Linked DNA regions of Homo sapiens: all the other regions are linked to region 5. The links are contacts of gene promoters, found by promoter capture Hi-C in blood cells and fetal thymus (Javierre and others, 2016). All regions are on one chromosome and are shown on one strand. Each heading gives the region's core, a stretch centred on a gene start or on the middle of the fragment in contact. The rest is flanking DNA. Distances are from core to core; before and after follow the strand shown. Region 1 overlaps CWC27 (CWC27 spliceosome associated cyclophilin). Region 2 holds the start of LOC401191 (a long non-coding RNA gene). Region 3 overlaps SREK1 (splicing regulatory glutamic acid and lysine rich protein 1). Region 4 overlaps CWC27 (CWC27 spliceosome associated cyclophilin). Region 5 holds the start of TRIM23 (tripartite motif containing 23). Region 6 has its middle 260 kb from the start of CWC27. Region 7 overlaps SREK1IP1 (SREK1 interacting protein 1).

The links. The method cuts DNA at HindIII sites, captures the fragments that hold promoters and counts their contacts. A CHiCAGO score of 5 or more calls a contact.
Region 1: a contact is called between a fragment that was not itself captured here and the fragment with the promoter of TRIM23 in region 5, in 10 of 17 cell types (fetal thymus, naive CD8 T cells, activated CD4 T cells and 7 more). The highest score is 11.7, in fetal thymus.
Region 2: a fragment that was not itself captured here is called in contact with the fragment with the promoter of TRIM23 in region 5 in 1 of 17 cell types (non-activated CD4 T cells); the score reaches 5.6 in non-activated CD4 T cells.
Region 3: a fragment that was not itself captured here is called in contact with the fragment with the promoter of TRIM23 in region 5 in 12 of 17 cell types (neutrophils, monocytes, naive CD8 T cells and 9 more); the score reaches 13.2 in neutrophils.
Region 4: a contact is called between a fragment that was not itself captured here and the fragment with the promoter of TRIM23 in region 5, in 1 of 17 cell types (naive CD8 T cells). The highest score is 6.1, in naive CD8 T cells.
Region 6: a fragment that was not itself captured here is called in contact with the fragment with the promoter of TRIM23 in region 5 in 2 of 17 cell types (total CD8 T cells and naive CD8 T cells); the score reaches 5.2 in total CD8 T cells.
Region 7: a contact is called between a fragment that was not itself captured here and the fragment with the promoter of TRIM23 in region 5, in 3 of 17 cell types (naive CD8 T cells, total CD8 T cells and activated CD4 T cells). The highest score is 5.8, in naive CD8 T cells.

What each region holds. Positions count from the first base shown.
Region 1 is chr5:64,771,542-64,774,241 of GRCh38, reverse strand. All of the region lies in intron 1 of CWC27 (CWC27 spliceosome associated cyclophilin), which reads right to left. Among named protein-coding and RNA genes, the nearest start is that of CWC27, 4.0 kb to the right of the region's middle. The HindIII fragment of the contact is 3,566 bases long and covers 1-2,700 here.
Region 2 is chr5:66,186,520-66,189,219 of GRCh38, reverse strand. It overlaps LOC401191 (a long non-coding RNA gene), which reads right to left and starts at 1,975. Exons shown (of 5, transcript XR_007058794.1): 1 at 1-1,975. The HindIII fragment of the contact is 4,113 bases long and covers 1-2,700 here.
Region 3 is chr5:66,154,713-66,157,412 of GRCh38, reverse strand. All of the region lies in intron 2 of SREK1 (splicing regulatory glutamic acid and lysine rich protein 1), which reads right to left. Among named protein-coding and RNA genes, the nearest start is that of SREK1, 12 kb to the right of the region's middle. The HindIII fragment of the contact is 4,476 bases long and covers 1-2,700 here.
Region 4 is chr5:64,801,767-64,804,548 of GRCh38, reverse strand. CWC27 (CWC27 spliceosome associated cyclophilin) reads right to left here. Exons shown (of 14, transcript NM_005869.4): 10 at 163-320. Among named protein-coding and RNA genes, the nearest start is that of CWC27, 34 kb to the right of the region's middle. The HindIII fragment of the contact is 2,515 bases long and covers 1-2,507 here.
Region 5 is chr5:65,622,933-65,625,632 of GRCh38, reverse strand. It overlaps TRIM23 (tripartite motif containing 23), which reads left to right and starts at 1,300. Exons shown (of 11, transcript NM_001656.4): 1 at 1,300-1,439. The coding sequence starts at 1,359. It overlaps TRAPPC13 (trafficking protein particle complex subunit 13), which reads right to left and starts at 606. Exons shown (of 13, transcript NM_024941.4): 1 at 527-606. The coding sequence starts at 572. It overlaps SHLD3 (shieldin complex subunit 3), which reads right to left and starts at 606. Exons shown (of 2, transcript NM_001365341.2): 1 at 527-606. RefSeq lists enhancers at 1,091-1,170, 1,301-1,630. The HindIII fragment of the contact is 4,327 bases long and covers 1-2,700 here.
Region 6 is chr5:65,030,428-65,033,127 of GRCh38, reverse strand. No RefSeq gene overlaps it. Among named protein-coding and RNA genes, the nearest start is that of CWC27, 260 kb to the right of the region's middle. RefSeq lists an enhancer at 296-1,495. The HindIII fragment of the contact is 2,956 bases long and covers 1-2,700 here.
Region 7 is chr5:64,752,312-64,755,011 of GRCh38, reverse strand. It overlaps SREK1IP1 (SREK1 interacting protein 1), which reads left to right. Exons shown (of 5, transcript NM_173829.4): 2 at 650-697. LOC124900985 (a long non-coding RNA gene) reads left to right here. Exons shown (of 4, transcript XR_007058787.1): 4 at 242-273. Among named protein-coding and RNA genes, the nearest start is that of SREK1IP1, 15 kb to the left of the region's middle. The HindIII fragment of the contact is 267 bases long and covers 1,275-1,541 here.

The DNA.
Region 1 (2,700 bases), core at 23-2,522, 850 kb after region 5:
TGAAGTAATAGTGAGCTATGATCATGCCACTATATTCCAGCCTGGATGACAGAGCAAGACCCTGTCTCAAAATAAAATAAAACATGACAAAACCCCAATAATGCAAATTTGTTATAATTGAGTTTCCCATTGCATCAATTCCAATAAAACTGTGTAGCAAATTAAGAAATTAAAGAATAATGAACCCATTAAATTGTGACATTATAGGACAATTTTATAATTACCCTTTTTAATTACCTTTTACTCTCTCTGCTCATTTAACATCATGCTATTCCTAATTTACAAAGGAACATTCTTAATCTAATTCTGGCTTGTGATTTACTAAAATACTATGTCTTAAAATCACCTTCTATAGTAAATAGAATCCCGTGATAGCCTTTCCACCAGCTCATAACAGCAGATACTCCTTGGTAGAACCAGAAACTTTGCAACTAGAACCCCTCCCTGCTGGGCCCACAGGAAACAGTTTATAACTGTCTTATTTATAACCACAAATAACCAAAAAGAATGTTAGGCTCTAAATTTGAACATTGTGGCATAGCTGGAAACCAATTTCTCCAGTATTACTTCTTCTTTTTTCTCCCCTAGTATACCAAAGTAGATCAGTGTCAATAATTTGTGACCATCACAATCTTTTAGAATGCTCTTTCAAGTAAAGAGTATGCAATATAACTGTTCAAAAACATGAGGCTGTTTCTCATAGGTCAGTATCATCAATGCTAAGTCACATTTCACCACCCTAAAAAGAAACCCTGTACTCATTAGCAGTCACTCCCTATTTACCCCTACTCCTACTCTCTGGCAGCCACTAATCTACTTTCTGTCTGTGTAGATTTGCCTATTAAACATTTCATATAAACAGAATCATACAATATGTGGCCTTTTGTGTCTGGCTTCTTTTACTTAGCATAATGTTGCTTTCAAATTATATAGGGGTCTTTCAGTTCTACACATCTAGTTTTTAAATGTCTTGAAAATCACAATGACTTTATACTCTTACTGGTAAATATTTCAAGACACAATATATATTTAAGGCAAAGTTCACCATTGAAAACAATAAATAGAAATCCATATTTCCAATGGTCTTCATAATAATTTCTGATTTTTTTGACAGACTTCCCATGCTGAGGTATCAGCTCTATCATGTTCTTATGATTTGCTTGTTTATATTATTAATAATATCTTCAATAAGAAATTTGTGATGGCTGGTTTAGTTAATCTAAATACTATGGTCTATAAATCTATTTGGCTAGTCGTTATGAAAAATTACACCACAATGCCAAAAAAGTGCCTTTTTTTTTTTTTGAGACAGAGTCTCACCCCGTTGCGCAGGCTGGAGTGCAACGGCACGATCTCGGCTCACTGCAACCTCTGCTTCCCGGGTTCAAGCAATTCTCCTGCCTCAGCCTCCCGAGTAGCTGGGACTACAGGCACCCACCGCCACACCCAGCTAATTTTTTGTATCTTTAGTAGAGACGGGGTTTCACCATGTTGGCCAGGCTGGTCTCGAGCTCCTGATCTCATGATCCGCCCGCCTCAGCCTCCCAAAGTGCTGGGATTACAGGCATGAGCCACTGCGCCTGGACTTTTTTTTTTTTTTTTTTTTTTTTTTTTTTTGAGACAGAGTCTCACTGTCTCCCAGACCCGAGTGCAGTGGTGTGATCTCAGTTCACTGCAACCTCCACTTCCTTGGTTCAAGCAATTCCCCTGCCTTAGCCTCCTGAGTAGCTGGGATTACAGGCTCACAACATCATGCCCGGCTACTTTTTTTGCATTTTTTTTAGTAGAGACAGGGTTTCACCCTGTTGGCCAGATTGGTCTTGAACTCCTGACCTCAGGCAATCTGCCATAGTCTCCCAAAGTGCTGGGATTATAGGCATGAGCCACTGCACCCAGTCATCATCTTTTTATATATATTAAATAATGAATTTAAACAAAGGAAAAAAATACAAATATATATAGATTTTCTCCCCACAGCTCATGGATGGTTTTGCACACCCACTGAAGTATGCACTCACTGGTTTAGAAACCACTGCTCTAATGAACACACTAATTACATCATCCCTCCCTCCACAGGCTCTGGAATCAGGATGCCCAAATTCAAATACTGGCCCTTCCATTTACTAGCTTTGTTACCTTGCGCACACTATCTGACATCTCTGTCACTTAATTTCCTAATCTAAAAACGGGATAATAATATCTTTTAGGATTTCTGTGAGGACAAAATGAGCTGTAATACATAGACTGCTTAGAAAAGTAAATGACAAATAATAAGTGCTCAAAAAATGATAGTCATTATTACGTGGTTTTTTGGCCACAGGCAACTTACACCTAGTAAAAAGAATGCATATATAATCGGGCCACTTTGCTCACCAGGGTTTCTTAATCTTTTCATTAATAAGCTACTGAATTAATAAAGAAGGTATATGGCTCCTTCCTCCTCTGGCCATACATTCTCTTTGGTCATCACTACTTTGTAGGCCTCCTTGGCTCTTTCTCTTAAAATTCCCAATTAATACCTTGATAATATCATGTTTCTTATAAACATATATGCAAATATACTTATAAAGCCATTTTGATTTTCAAGATATTTAAAAACTAAGTGTGTACAACAGGAAGACAGACCCCTATCATTTGAAAGCAACATTACACTAAGTGAAGAAGCCAGACACAATTTAGAATAAGTGATCATAATATGTG
Region 2 (2,700 bases), core at 34-2,533, 560 kb before region 5:
AACCCATGGATCAAAGACAAAATCTAAGGGAAAATTATGAAGTATTTTGAACTCAATGAAAATGAAAATACAACACAGCAAAATTTGTTAGAATACAGCTAAAGTAGTGCTTTGAAGGAAATGTATAGCACTAAATACATATATTAAAAAAGAAAGGTCTGAAGTCAGTGACTCCTGTTCACACCTTAAACTAGAAAAAGAGGGCAAACTAAATCCAAAAGAAGAAAAAGAAAATAAATAATGAAGAGCAGAAATCAGTGAACTAAAAAAGAAAAATTGATGACAGTGAAATCTGATTTGAGAAAATAAATTGATAAACCTCTAGCTTGACTGATCAGAATAAAAAGAAGGAAGACACAAGTTAACGATATTATGAGTGAGAGAGGACATCGGTATAGATCTTATATGTATTAAAAGGTCGTAAGGAAGTATGAATAACTTCATGGCAATAAAGTTGACAACTTAGATAAAATAGACAAATTTCATTAAAGATACACAACATCAATGCTCATTTAAGAATAAATAAACAAGGGCCAAGCATGGGGATGTGTGCATGTAGTCCCAACTACTCAGGAGGCTGAAGGAGGAGGATCTCTTGAGCTCAGGAGTTTGAGACCAGCCTGGGCCACATAGTGAGACCCCAACTCTAAAACAAAACAAAACAAAACAAATAAACCCTAAGAATAAATAGCTTGAATAACTCTAAATCTAGTTTTAACACTGAATTTGTAGTGTGAAAGACTATTCCAGGCTCAGGTTGGCTTTTTTGAGGTATTCTACCTTAACAATTTGACACAAATTCCTTCAGAAAAGTGAAGAGGAGGGAATTACTTTCCAACTCATTCTATTAGGCAAGCATGCCCCTTATACCAAAACCAGAATGAAATTACAAAAAAACTCAGACCAATTTAAATACATTTAATCAAGTGGCAACATACGTTGAAATGAATTTGAAAAAGGTCTGGGGTTGCAAGACCAATTAGTAGGCTACAGAAGCAGACTAAAAGGAAAATGACAATTCTAATACTACAGTTACTTTTCTGCTAGAGTGATTCTATTCCATGTAACTAAAATCATACAAGGGCATACTTAAGATATTTCAGAGGAAATGCACAATTGGGAGGACTTAGCAGATGTGACTGAGGGTGGGAACAAGATGGAAGTTGCAGGCATTCTCAGGGATATTAGGGGTTCAGTTCCAGGCCACCATAATAAGGTGAGTATCACAATAAAGCAAGTCACATAAATTCTTTGGTTTCCCAGTGCATTTAAAAGTTATGTTTTATAACTATGGCCTATTGAGTGTGCAATACCATTATATCTAAAAAAGTGTACATACCTTAATTTAAAATACTGCTTAAAAAATGCTAGCGATTGTCTAAGCCTTCAGTGGGTCATAATCTTTTTGCTGGTAGAGGGTCTTGCCTTGATGTTGATAACTGCTAATCAGGGTTGTGATTGGTGAAGGCTGAGGTAAACGTAGCAATTTCTTAAAATAATAAAGTTTGCCACATCGATTGACTCTTCCTTTCACAGATTTCTCTGTAGCATGGGATGCTGTCTGACAGCATTTTACCCATGTAGTACTTTTAAAATTGGAGTCAATCCTTTCAAACCCTGCCACTGCTTTATCAATTAAGTAATATTCTAAATCCTTTGTGGTCATTTCAACAGCATTCATAGCATCTTCACCAGGAGTAGATTACATCTCAAGGAGCCACTTTCTTTGCTCATCCATAAGAAGCAACTCCTCATCTCTTCAAGTTCTATCATGAGATTGCAGCAATTCAGTCACATCTTCAGGTTCCACTTTTAATTCTAGTTCTCTATTTCTACATCTGCAGTGAAGTCCTTCACTGAAGTCTTAAGCCCCTCAAAGCCATCCATGAGGGCTGGAAGCAACTACTTCCAAGCTCCTCTTGATGTTGCTTTTTATTTTTATTTATTTATTTATTTTTAAGACAGTTTCCCTCTGTTGCCCAGGCTGGAGTGTAATGGCGCAATCACAGCTCACTGCAACCTCCACCTCCCAAGCTCAAGCAATTCTTGTGCCTCAGCCTCCTGTGTAGCTGGGATTACAGACATGCACCCATCATGTCTGGCTAATTTTTGTATTTTAGTAGAGATGGGCTTTTGCCATGTTGGCCAGGCTGGTCTCAAACTCCTGACCTCAACTGATACACCCTCCTCAGCCTCCCAACATGCTAGGATTACAGGCGTGAGCCACCCCGCCTGGCCTCATGTTGTTATTTTGTTCTCTTCCCATGAATAACAAATGTTAATGGCATCTGGAATGGTAACTCTTTTCTAGGTTTCCAATGTACTTTGCCCAGATCCATCGGAGGAATCACAATCTATGACAGCTATAGCCTTATGAAATGTATTTCTTAAATAATAAGACTAGAAAGTCAAAATTACTCCTTGATCCACGGGCTACAGAATGAATATCGTTTGTACAGGCATGAAAGCATTAATCTCCTTGTACATCTCCATCAGAGCTCTTGGGCAACCAGGAGATTGTCAAGGAACAGTAATATTCTGAAAGGAATTTGTTTTTTTAGCAATAGGTCTCAAAACTGGATTTAAAATAGTAAATCATGCTGTGAACAGATGTGTTGTTATCTAGACCTTGTTCCGTTTATAAAGCACAGGCAGAATACATTCAGCACAATTCTTAAGGACTCTAGGATTTTCAGAATG
Region 3 (2,700 bases), core at 64-2,563, 530 kb before region 5:
TCAGAGTTCTAATCTAGTAATGTCCCAAATTTAATATTACTTGTCCTTTAATAAGTAAAACTACCTATTGAAGACATTGTAGAAAGACTATACAAACAAAAAGGGTATTCAACACTGGCCAAAAGTTGACTACTTAGTATTATGAAGTCTTTCACTTTCAGCTTAAGTATCAGTAGGTTGTCAAACTCTCCCACTGCCTTTCAAAAGAGTATACTACTATAAATATAGTATACTACTATAAATGTATAAATCCACTATAAGCACATTTTTTAATAAATTAACTTTCAATTACCATTCTAATTACTCTATATACTTATTCTAATTACCTAAAGGTAATGGCAAAAGTACTTTAAGAAAAAGCTCCATTGCTTAATTTCCAAGATAGAATTCTACCAAATTTACCCTCCAAATAACAGAGCTTATAAAAGTATAAAACAAATAAGCATTTAGCATTTTTCCCAAACTATACTCCTCAAAGTCAACTGAGGAAAACATCTCTCACAGTATTATAGTCCTAATCTCAGAATCCATTTAGAAGCTAGTAACCTCTGAAAAATATTCAACAAAAAATTCAAGCTAACAAAAACCTACATGCAAATACTTAAGTTTCTCAAATATCCATTCCCCACATAGGCAACAAAAAGTCTTCATAAGTCAAGGAAATAAGTTATATGATAAATAACCATCATAAAAATGAAAGGCTCTTCTTTACTCCCAGATTGTTATATTTACTTATTTTCCTTGATGATTTTGTATGCCTAAAATTCCAGGGGGAAGGACAAAAATTAGAAGCTATCAGTTTTTATGAGAGATGTAGACTAGGGGGGAAAAAAACTAGAAAAATGTTGCGCTGAGATCAGAAAGTGTTCCTGAGATACTTATCAGTGTTTTAATGTTTCAAGAATAAAATGTACCTTATGAGTCCATACACACAAATTAAGACTCACAATGAGCTTCACAACACTGTATCCTAATTTACCACATGAAAATTTGCTTTATCTTAAGGTTGAGCTCTACTAATCATCTCCCAATATAATTTGCAACACGTTATGAACCCTTAATGAAATACCATTTACAAAGAACTGGGAAAACCAGCTCACAAGTTAAAGTGAAAGAGATTTAACAAAACAAAAACAAAAACAAAAACAAAAAAAGGGACAAAATAAAGAAAAAGAAATGAAATTAAAGTAAAACAATAAAAAACAGAGACAGGGCGTCCATCTTCTGCGGTTCAGACTCCGATCTCATTTCCCCAATGAAGGTTTCACTTGACGGCAGGTTTAGTGGCATGGCAAACAATGCCTAACTCAGGCAAGTGTAACAGGTCTGCCTTGGCCAGTCTAGTCATCTAATAATGCACAAATATCACATAGAGAAAACATACAAAACCAAATTAATAGTCAAAATCCATCTACCAGAAAATGTGGACATAAAGTTATGACTGATGATTAGGCTGACACCCTTGTTATGTTTGACCGTATCTTTTTCTACGTGTTAACATTTATAAAAAGAAATCTGAAATGCACGCAACAACAAAAAGAGGTCATATTTGGACAAGTATAATGAAAGCATATTTTATTTTGAAATGGCATGTTTTATTAACAAAGGCTAAGGCTTAATATGCATGAAACTGTTACACATCAAATGTTACTTTTACAACTTAGGATCTTCTCACATTACTGTCTACACTAAAAAACAGCAATTCAAAGAAACTGAAAAAACTTCTTAAATTTTTTTCTATGGTTTTTCTCACTTATGTCATGATGCTGTTTGTTCAACATCAAGGAAAGGATGCATTCAGTGAGGTCAACAGAACACTGCTTGCTTACAGCACCACAGCACATCTCCTCTTACAGAACTTACTCCACTGGAATACTTTTCTTTGGTTATTTCACACTCACTCTGCTATCTTTTTTAGTACAATAATGCACTATTTCTTTGCTTGTAGTGCATAATCAGTATTTTAACAGCTCACTGTGAAATTCTCGAGGTTCCATAAATTCATCTCTGCCGTATTTAATACAACTAATGAAAAACGTATATCTGAATGTTTCACCAATACCAACTGTAGGTTAGTGTTTCAAAATATTTACTTACTTATAACTAAATTGCAATAAAAGTATGCTTAAATTTTTCTGTTCAAAAACAGTAAAACTGTCCAAGTTGTAATATTAAAAACACTAAAAAGGTACATCTGACTGTGCATTTATTCATCTCTATCAAGTAAAATAAACAATAAAAGGGACATCTACACGCCCATCATCTTGAACATTTATAACAAAATACAGTAGGGCTTCTCAGATATATGAAAGATTCTATGGGAATAAAGCAGGTTTCAACCAAGCAACACTGATAAAATTCTTCCTTCCAATTCAGTAATAAGCTAACACAATAAAAGACCCAGTGTTATTGGTGGTATTAATTTTCTGATATAATTAATATTCCAGTTTAATAAACCTTTTACCTGATTTCTTTTTTCCCATGCAGTTTCTCAGTATGAAATTTCACTACAAAGTTTGTAGAACGAAACCATTCACCAGCTCCTTTCCCACCTCACCAATTTGGGGCTTACTGTAGCCTTACAGATCAGCAGATAAAGATACATTTGGCCAATAATTAACTTTAATCCATTTTTATCTTCCCTACCCACTCTAACCCCCAAGCATGGGAAAGACACTTCCAAATTTATCTGAAAAATAC
Region 4 (2,782 bases), core at 1-2,500, 820 kb after region 5:
TTTATTTTAGGCCTGCTAATGGGCCAATTTGTACAACTGTTATGTTTATCAAACATTATGAAAATAGTATTTTAAAAATTAGCTGAAGAGAGGATTCAATCTGAATTAAAGTGAAATATAAAAAGACAAAAACTCTGATATCTAGCACAGTAACTGACTCACCTGCGGCTGACTGATTTCTTCTCCACTTCTCCTTCTCCAGCTGATTTAACATTCGCACTTGTGTCCTTTTTTAATTTTTTGGCAATTCTTTCTCTCATCAGGTTCTTTTCATCACCATCAATATATTCATCATGCTCTGCACTTTCATCTTCTCCATCCTGTAGAAATGGAAAATGAGTATTTGCCAGGTGCTCAATTTCCCCTTTCATTTCTAGAGATCTATTGCATCCACTGAATCTCCTTATTGCATTCTAAACTAGGTTTTTTTTTTTATTTTGTTTTCTTTTGTTTTGAATTATAAGCCCTTGAAGAATCTGCTACAGGTGGGAATAGCCCTGGGTTCTGCTCTAAGCCAACTATGTAATTATGGGATACCCCAGGAAAGGCTGTTCGCTCAACTCATGCCCAGCTCCTTTGTGCAGCAGACTTCTCCCTCTGTGTCACTCGGGCTATTCTGTCTATATTCCTATTCTTATCTCAGTGGGAAATGTGGCTTTTGAAGGCAGTTGGCCAGCATACTGACCTCAACAGGGATCAATTCAAGTAGAAGAGGTGTAGTGCAGAAGCTGAGATTTCTATAATCCAAGTCACAGCAATCACTTCTCTTGTGAAAACCCTCTAGTGGGTCCCCAACTCACTCAAGGCCCTATGCAATCTAAACCTCCCTGACATAATCTCCTACAACTCCAGCCCACCAACACTAGCCAACTTTGGAGTTGTTGTTCTCTCCAGCCTGAAACAAATACTCTATTCCAGATATCTCTTCATTGCTTGCTCTTTCATCTCCTTCAGATCTTTGCTCAAATGTTACCCTCTTGGTGATGAGATTAACCTATTAAAATGGTAGAACCACACACTTACCTCCAGTACTCTTTCATCTTCCCTGGCTTATTTTCCAAAGTACTTATCACCTATCTGATACACCATATATTTTAATTATTTGCATGTGTATTGTCTGTCATCCAATTACAGCAAACACTCCATGAGAGCTAAAATTCTGGCCTGTTTTGCTTACTGCTGTATCTTCAACTCCTAGAATAGTGCCCAGCATTGACAGATGGAGGAACAAAGGGAAGAAAGAGGGGAGAGAAGAAGGAAGAAATAACCCCAAGTGGATCATTTTTCTTTTGTGATTCTTTCTTTGATCTGGTGAGTCGTAGTGAAGCAGGATTCTTAATTTGAGACTTGTGGACCCCTAAAGCACTGGTCCTCAAAGTCTGGTCCTTAGATGGTATTACATAGTTGTTTATTAACACCTAAAATTCTAGCCCTCATTGCAGACTTATTGAACCAAAATCTCTGGGGTAGGAATTACGAATGTTTTCAACAAGATGTTTAAGTAATTCTTAAGCACTAAAAGGTGACAACCACCAACCTAGGCCTTCCATGCTCAGGCCTCAGGAGATCTAAAAAAAATTCCCTGCAAATTCATATAATTTTGGTTGTGAATGTAGTACATTTTCCTGGGAAAGGATTCACAGTTTTAGTCACTCACCCATGATATTAAGAGCAAATCTATACTTTTACTTTCTATCCTATACATTGATCCTAACTTCTAGACCCATATTATGTTACACAGATGTCTCCAAATTACCTCAATCTTGAAATGTATAAAATTAAGCTCATTATTTTTCATCCTTTTCTCCACCTCAACCCTATGCTTTCTTTTGCACCCATCTAACAAGTTGCTCAAACCAGAAACCTTGTGGTTGTCTTGGACTACTCCTCCCTCACCTCATAGTGTAGAATCAGTCACCTCCTAGACCTCTTTCAAATCTACCTCTTTCCCATCTCACAGCTGTGGTCTTATATCAAGCTCTCCTCCTACAATAGCTTCCCAGTATCAGTCTGTTTCCTCTAATTTGTCCTCTATAATATCGCCAATAGTGATCTTCCTGAAATGCAAAATTGATCATAGCATCCTTCTTTTTAACAAACACCTTTCAACTGTTCCTCACTTCCTTTTAGGAAAAAACTCAAACCCCTCACCATGGCCTATGAAGCTCTGTAATGAAGCTCTGGCCTGTCACCACACCCTGTTCACGCTGGCCTGCTTGCAGCTCTTAGAACACACCAAACTCTCCTGCTTCGGACCATTTTGTATATGCAGTTCCCCTTACCTTCAATACTCTTCTTCCTTGCTCTTCACAAGACAGACTCCTTGAAACTTTAAATTTCCGTTTGTATTTCCTAAATAAGGTATGATCTCTCCTTATTTCCATGCTTTAGCATATGCTATTCTCTGAGCTAGAGGGACCTCACCCCCTTCATCACTTTCTTTTCTGACTTAGCTAACTCCTAACTCTCATATAAGACATAAATAGCATCATCTCTTCCAGGAAGCTTTTCTTGACAAGGTCAGATATTCATCCTCTCTCTATCTACTACTGATAGCCATAGAGAGCCTTCTCTTTTGACTGTGATAATAGATAAATCTGTGTTCATGCATGGAAAGTTATGTACTTCCTAGTAAATTATACAATGCACAGATTAATGGGTTTTTATATAAAAAGTGGCATATGTATAATTTGAAAAACTTGACTCTTATGTATTAAAGGAAAATCTTCCTTCTGTTTTGTTAGCTTTGTTAGCCACTACAACTAATAAAGATCACTACACT
Region 5 (2,700 bases), core at 51-2,550:
GACATTAGATCTCGGACATATTTCCCACATACACAGTGATTTGAAGTAAACTGCAGTTTGTTTTGAATAAATCTAAGTTATATGTTGTATTACTATGTATTGCTAAATTCTCTGCACTACTGTCATGCAATACTAATTTTACAGGGGAAGCTGAAGCCTGATTAACTTCGTCAGTGCCACAGGAAGAAACAAGAGACAGAAGGAAAAAGCACTTTGGATGCCCGCTGTAATTCACAGAGATCTCCACGGTAGGAGCGGGACGTCAGCTTCTGCGGCTAAAATCTCGTGACTGAAGCAGCACAGATCAGAAAGAACGATTTACCAGGTATCTATTTCGTTCTAGAAAGGGGCCCATAAACCTAAAAAGCATCCAGGAGAAATCGCTTCCTCCCGCTTGGCGGCAAAGGACAGAGCAGGAGGGCGAGCACTGAGTGTTTAAGAAGGATGAGGCCTACATGGCAAAGGCTTCGATAAGTAGGGAATGCAAGGAAACAGAAAAGGGGGAATCAGGTTCGCAAAAGTTTACCTTTTAGCGCCAGCAGGTGCTCCTGTTTAGGGGGATTCACTTCCATTTTGACCGGCACTTTTGACCCACAGCCTACGGGGGCTGGACAGGTTCAACTTGCCCCGGAAGGAAACGGAAAACCTCGCGTTTGGCAAAACCAAAAGTCAAACGCACTCTCAACCTCTCTCTGGTGGTGGTACCTTAAATTCTCCTACTGTGTCCTTTACAAACTGGCTTCTTTTCAACAAGTCCATTTCTTCTATCTTAGAAACGTAGGCATAAAATACTTTGTTTTCCATCTGCAATCACACATCGCGACTGCAGGAAAAGAAACCACCCCTAGGTAACAATACGCGGCCTCCCAAAGGCCAACGTTGCCGGAGTTTTTTTTTTAAAAAAAAAAAAAAAAAAAAAAAAGAGAGAGAGAGAGAGTGGCATGCTGGGATTTGTAGTTTATACAAAAACCGCGTTGCATGCAGGGAGATGCCCGTACCCCCTCACCGCCCTCAGTTCACGCCCTGGCTGGTTTGGATTCGAGAGGAAAAATCATTAAAGGATCTGGAGTTTTCACCCCAAAACTTTAATCGTTTTGTCCCTTCTTTTTTTTTCTTGTCTTTCCTCCAGCAGCTGCAGACTACATAATGAAAAATAACAAAAGTGCCCATGCGCGAGGCTGTGCAACTAACCACCCGACGATTGCGGGGAGGAGGAGTAAGAGTCGGCTAAGCGGCGCCCAGTGTCCTACTGCGCCTGTGCGCCGGTGGCGTGCGCAGAGGCCTCTGGGTAGGTGGCTCAACCCCGCCTCTCAGTTGAGGACTCTGAAGGCTGTTTCTGTGGCGCTTCCCCTGCGAGGATGGCTACCCTGGTTGTAAACAAGCTCGGAGCGGGAGTAGACAGTGGCCGGCAGGGCAGCCGGGGGACAGCTGTAGTGAAGGTGAGGGACCTTGCGTGCTCTATTCTCCACCATCGGCCTCCCTTCGGTTCATCCTGGAGACCTGGCGGCATCGCCGCGGCCCAGGCTTCGATAGGTGGGATGCGCGGCCTCTGGGCCCCTTTTGGCATTACAAGTCTCGTCCTGTCCTCTGCATCCTTTCTCTCCTATGGCCTGAAATTGCCTGGTCTTCTGCTCATGACATGTCATCATCGGGACATTTGTGAAAAGGAGCTTGCGGGCCAGTGGCAGTGACCTAGACCGGTCTTTTCTCCAGGTCCTCTGCTTTTAGTTAAACTCAACAGACATTAATTAGCTTAGTATTATAAATTGAGTCATCATCATCGTAACTACGTACTAAGTTAGGTGTTTTAGCTCGTTAATATCTACTTATGAAGTAGATGTGAATTCCCATTTTACAGGGAGGAAACCCAGGTTTAGGTAAACAGTGTGTGGCAGAGCCCCGGGTTGACCGGCTTTAAAGTCTGTACTTTTCGCTCTTGTACTGCGTCTGTAATCAGACATCTGTTATTGGGTGAGCTGCCCCCTCCCCTGTTAGTAGTACAGTCTATTAACTCTTTGCACAAGTCTGCAGCATCGTCATAGCTGGGCATTAACGATAGAGTTTATGAATTTTCTTATGCTTGAAGTTTGAGATTCTACCATGTATACATGCTCCAGAATCAATTTGCTAAAAAATCATTTGAAATATGTGGCACTCATTTTTCCCTTCCACTGTTGTGCACGGAAAGATATGGAGGGGAGAACTGATCCCATTGGTTTATAGAGTAACCTTCAGGAGCATCTCTAATCTAAGAGATTGATAATTCTCATTCCTGGCTACATATTAGGATCACTGAGGAGTTTTAGTACACTACTGATGCACTCCTCCTCCAGTTCTGATGAGGTTGACATCAGTATATTTTAGGAATTACCAGAAGTTATTTTAATGTGCAACCAGGGTTATGAATTACTGATCAAGGTAATATATGAAGTTTTTTTCACATCTTGAAAAGTAGACACCTATGATTATTCAGGTAATGTTGGTTTTATATGACAGCAAATGAGACATTTCTTCCCACAATTTAGTATCAGTGAATATTGGTGGTTGTTGATTCAGATGACCTTTAGGTACTAATGAAGTTATTCTACAGGTACACGGCATATCTGATATGCAAAGGAGCCCTCATTATTAGGCATGTTGTGTGACTGAGATTTTATTTATTGAATTGTGCTTTTGCTAAGTAGAGAATACTTGAAGAGC
Region 6 (2,700 bases), core at 162-2,661, 590 kb after region 5:
ATTGATCATTGTGCTAATCATTTTATACTTTAAACTCAGAAAGTTTAGGTATATCCTCTAAGGACTCCCAGCTAGTTGGTGGCAGGGACAGAACTTGAACAAAAGGTTAGAGTGTGAGCTCTTTTGATGTCTGATTTCCCATTTCACAGGCCTGTTTACTTCCAGAAGGGAGTTGAACACAAGTTGAAGAGTTGGAGTGGTGGCGGTGAGAGCAGCTCAGGGAGTAAATGATAGTAATGCTAAAAAATGCAAAGTGCAATTAATTTTAAAACTCACATCTTACATATTTACATTGTTGTTTCAATGTAGTTGCTCATAGTCTGAGATCTTAATAGGTCCATGCCATCTTAATGTCAACCTGAGGATTAGGTAGGAACATAGCAAACAAGGCAGTGGACCTAGGGGTTGATTAGGTTCTAAATCATATTTTAATAAACAACTGTTCATACTTTTCCAGAATCATTTAAAGGGAAACCAGAGTAATCTTGTTAGTACAACCCTCACATTTTAGCAATGTCCTTAAAGTGCTCACCAACTCAGTTTGAGGAGATTGGCAATGACTTGGAAATCATGTCATCCTTGTAATACAGACTTGAGAGTCCAGTGAGGAAAGAGTGAAGGAAATGACAAAGCACCCTTTGGAGGATGACGACAGAAATGTACGCATGAAAATAATCACACCTCAGGGATCTCCGAGGGCCTGCACGCACTACCGATTACTCACCCGTTGTAAGGTCTCCCAGCATTAATCCATCTTGGCAGTAGGAAGAACATTACCAAATGACTACATTGCCTGCTGGCTTCTTCCAGTCTCCTGGCTGGAAAAGCAAATGAGTGAATATTCACTCTGGAAGATGGAATTGTTTCCTGTATAGAGTCTACTTCATGGAGGTTCTTCAGGCAAGTAAACCAGGATATGAAATATTTTTTGTGCACCACATTCTAACAACTTCTGGAGCATCTAAATCCTGTCTTGGAAGCAGTTTCCTTAGGGTTTAACCAGGCATTAAACCAAGGTCAATGACAACCAAGGCCAATGACAACCAAGGCCATTTTCTAGTTGTACAGTAATTCTAGGGGAAAAACTACTTGGTTTTTGAAGGTGCTTTAATGTTTTTAGGTCAATATTTACTTCACTTCCTGCATATAAGGTGGTTGAAGAAAAAGTGCACTTATAAAAAAACAAAATAAAAACAAACCCCCCTCCCCTCCCCATAAGTTTTACTTACCAACAGTAAGAAAAATAGAGGATTAAAGACAAAAAGAGCTGGCATTCATATGTTGGAAGACTTTTTTGAGTGTCACAGATTTTTAAATAGCTGTCTTTTTTTTAGGTGGTTCTTGATGGGATTGTCTGGAGGGAAAAAAGGCCCTGTTATTAAACAAGGCTCAGGAGACATCGAGTGTTTTGGATAGTTAAAGGGAGTAGGGGGTGAGCTACCATGCGCAAGAGAGGTGAGTGTACCATTCCAGCACACTACTAACCCTTGTTAGCATAGAGATTTTCTTTGGAGAAAGACGCTAAATACATTACCCACATTATGCATGAAGAGAGGGTTTACCCAGGAGCTTAAGGCAGGTCATGGACCATATTAGAATGTCATCCAGGAACCCAATGATGCCACAGCCCCGTAAGTCATGAAGACCTCATTCTACAACCTGGAACCATTACCAACCTATAGAAGAGACACTAGCTACTCGTCTAGCCCACAGGGCTGGGAAGAATGTCTGTTCCTCATTTTACTGGGTGGCCGTTGGATTGCAGGATTGGTGAAGAACCATCTTCCCCACAGTGCTTCAGAAAGTTGGGAGCCAGAAGCAGAGGGCTGTAGTTCAGCGATTGTGTGACCAGGGGGTCCTTGCTCCCAGAGCTCCCAAGATGGTGGCGGGCTGCTTGCAAAATGGCCACGGGCCGCTTCCAAACTGGCCGCAGGCCGCTTCCAAGATGGTGGCAAGCCTTGTGTTCTCTGACCTGGGGTTCTTGGGCTCACGGATTCCAAGGAATGGAATCTCGGGCCATGCGGTGAGTATTACAGCTCTATTAGAAGCCATGGGTCACGGAAGAGAACTGTGGAACCAAGTGACTAGTGTTCAGCTCCATTAGGGCGAACCCAGGCACTTAGCTGTGCAGGAATAAGGGCAAGCCTTTAGCCTGATCAGGAGCGGCAATGGGTACCTCACTGGATCAGGAGCACAGCGGACTCCCTGCTGGATCTGGACGGATGGAAGTCAGTGGCGGGTCTGCAGTGGCCGGAAACGGCAGTGGTGGATGGCGAGCGAAAGCTCAGCTCCAGCCCTAACAAACACGGACTGGAAGAGAGTGCAGTTGCAAGATTTAATAGAGTGAAAGCAGAGCTCCCATACAAAGGGAGGGACCCAAAGAGGGTAGCCGTTGCTGGCTCGAATGCCTGGGTTTATATCCTGATCATTGTCCCTCCTGCTGTGCTCTCAGGCAACAGATGATTGGCTATTTCTTTACCTCCTGTTTTTGCCTAATTAGCTTTTTAGTGAGCTCTCCTTACTACCTGATTGGTCGGGTGTGAGCTAAGTTGCAAGCCCCGTGTTTAAAGGTGGATGTGGTCACCTTCCCAGCTAGGCTTAGGGATTCTTAGTTGGCCTAGAAAATCCAGCTAGCCCTGTCTCTCAATTGCAGTGAGGACTCTTTAGTTCCTATGGAGTCTGACTTCTAGGTCTTTTTTA
Region 7 (2,700 bases), core at 159-2,658, 870 kb after region 5:
ATCTCACTGTGGTTTTGATTTGCATTTCTCTGATGATTAGTGATGTGGAGCTTTTTTTTATGTTTGTTAGCCATATGTGTTTGTCTTATTTTATTATATTGAATTAGAAAAAAATGTTATTGATGTATTTGTCAAATAATTTGAGTAAATTGGCCTTTCTGTTGATTTATAAGAGTCATATAATTGAGTAGGTCATTAAGCTGGGTCAGAGATGATTTTTTGTTGTTGCTGTTTCTTAAAGAAATAAATTCTACTGGGTGCGGTGGCTCTTACCTACAATCCCAGCACCTTGAGAGGCCAGAGGAGGATCGCTTGAGGCCAGAAGTTTGAGATCGCCTGGGCAACAAAGCACAACCTCATCTCTGCAAAAAAATTTAAAAGTTAGCCAGGTGTGGTGGCACATGCCTGTAGTCTCAGCTGCTTGGGAGGCTAAGGTAGGAGGATCGCCTGAGCCAGGAGCTGGAGGCTGTAGTGAGCTGTGATCATGTCAGTGTACTCTAGCCTTGGTGACAGAGTGACACCTTGTCTCAACAACAAAAAAAAAGAAATTCTATAACAAATGGTTTTTCTTAGCTTTTTTCATACAATAAAGTTTTTAAGTTTTCGCATATTTATTTACTTCCTAAAATTCTATCCAATTGTATTTCAGGTTGCAACAAGGACAGTGTCAGAGCAGGCTGTAAAAAATGTGGCTACCGTAAGTATTCTAAAAGATGACATGCTTTGCATTATTCATACTGGAATCATGGCCTCTTTGGGCAATATAATGTAGCACCCTGATTTCAGGGGCCCAGTTGCATAGTCCTTTAGCCCTAAGCTAACATCTAGTTACAGAAATTCCTCTGTTAGCACTAAATATTCACTTTTCTTCCCTGCTTTAGACCCAGTAACAGGTAGCTATGTATCTGATGACTACCAAAAGTAGCATGAAGATACAGGTGGTTAGTAGTAGATTAAGGAGTTTGGAGAAAGTATATTTTTTAAAAACTATATACATACTTATTCTTTTCCCCCTTTCCACATACTAGGAGAAAAAGTGAAGGCAATGCAAACTATTTATGAAGATTTTTTGTGTTTATTACATTTACTTTAAAGATTCAATTGGTCTCAGAATTTCTGCTCATGGGCGAAAACTTGATTTAAACAATTATTAATCTCCATTATGATTAAGTGAGTGAAAAGGTAAACTTAAGCATGTGTAATTATAAATATAAATTTGTAATTTTATACTGTAAGTAAATATTCTTTAGTTAAATATAGTAATGCCTAAAGCTTTAGTAACAGCTATAGCAACAACATTTGCTATTTTCTAAGTTGTTTGCAGACCGTGTGAATTAGCCTGGATTGTTAATACATTCCAATTCATTGAAGAGTTATTAAGTTTTACCAACTAAGAATGATTTGACAAAAAGATGTTCATGCAAGAACATGTGATAAGAGAGTACTCGGCATAAATCTCCATCAGAAGGGCACATTAAAAGAATGCTGAGAGAACAAGTCGCATACTTCCAAGCAAAGCTAAAACTGGCTCAAGGGAAGCTTGCTCAAGTAGCAAAATTGCATATATAACTATATATATCACTCACATAAATGAAAACTGAAGAATGTACTTGCACGCAAGAAATGAGTGCAATGAAATCTTTTCTATTTTTAAATTTGTTTATATTTCTACTTGTTTGCTTTCTTTCAAGCATTGCTAACTTTGTTTACTTTCTTTTAATCATTGCTGACTTACCTGCCTCATTTCTTTATTCAAGAATTAAGAACCTACAAATGCTTCATTTACTTCAAAATCTGGAATGGATTTCCCAGTCTGTCTACTAATATCAGTCTCTATACTTGGACTTCTTTTAACCTAACACTTTGAGGAAAGCAATTAAATTCATTTTCTGGAAATAAAATATTTGTTGATGTAGTCTCCTCATTGTTATTTTATTTAAGACAACAATGGAAGTATCTGCAGTAATTAGAATTCTTTAGGAGAAGCCAAGTCAGCAAATCGTTTTGTCAATATTTCCGTATTTAGTTATTTTTGCTTTATTATTTAGATCTTTGATTTTAGTGATTTAGTTGTTAAACAATTTCTGATTTGTCTCCTGTGGAAAAATTTAGTCATATTTCCCTTCTGTGTTAAATTTACATCTCCACAGCTATTAAAGATGAAGGTCTTCTCAATTTACAAGTCTTTCTAATAGAAATTTCATTTACAAATTAGCTTATCTTTTATTTGGGGGCCAGAATTTTTGTATTGCTTGTATAAAGGTAAGAGAAAGGTCAAGAAGATGATTTGAAATACTTTTAATTCCCAAAAATATGGGTATTTTTCAATTGTTTACAAAAGAATATTCTCTCTCTTTTGTTGCAAAAATAGTTGTTCAGATTGTACAATTTAAAGAATTTCAATACTTGATAGAAAAAGAGCTTATTTCTCAGTATATTTCAATAGTGAATATATTGTTTTTTAAAGTTTTGAGTTAAGTTTGAATATATTATTAAATAACATGGGTCTCTCTTTCTGTGGCAGAATTTCCTTAGCAAAATTAACTTAAAAGAAATTCACAGGCCAGGCATGGTGGCTCACGCCTGTAATCCCAGCACTTTGGGAGGCCAAGGTGGGTGGATCACGAGGTCAGGAGATCGAGACCATCCTAGGTAACCCGATGAAACCCCGTCTCTACTAAAAATACAAAAAATTAGCCG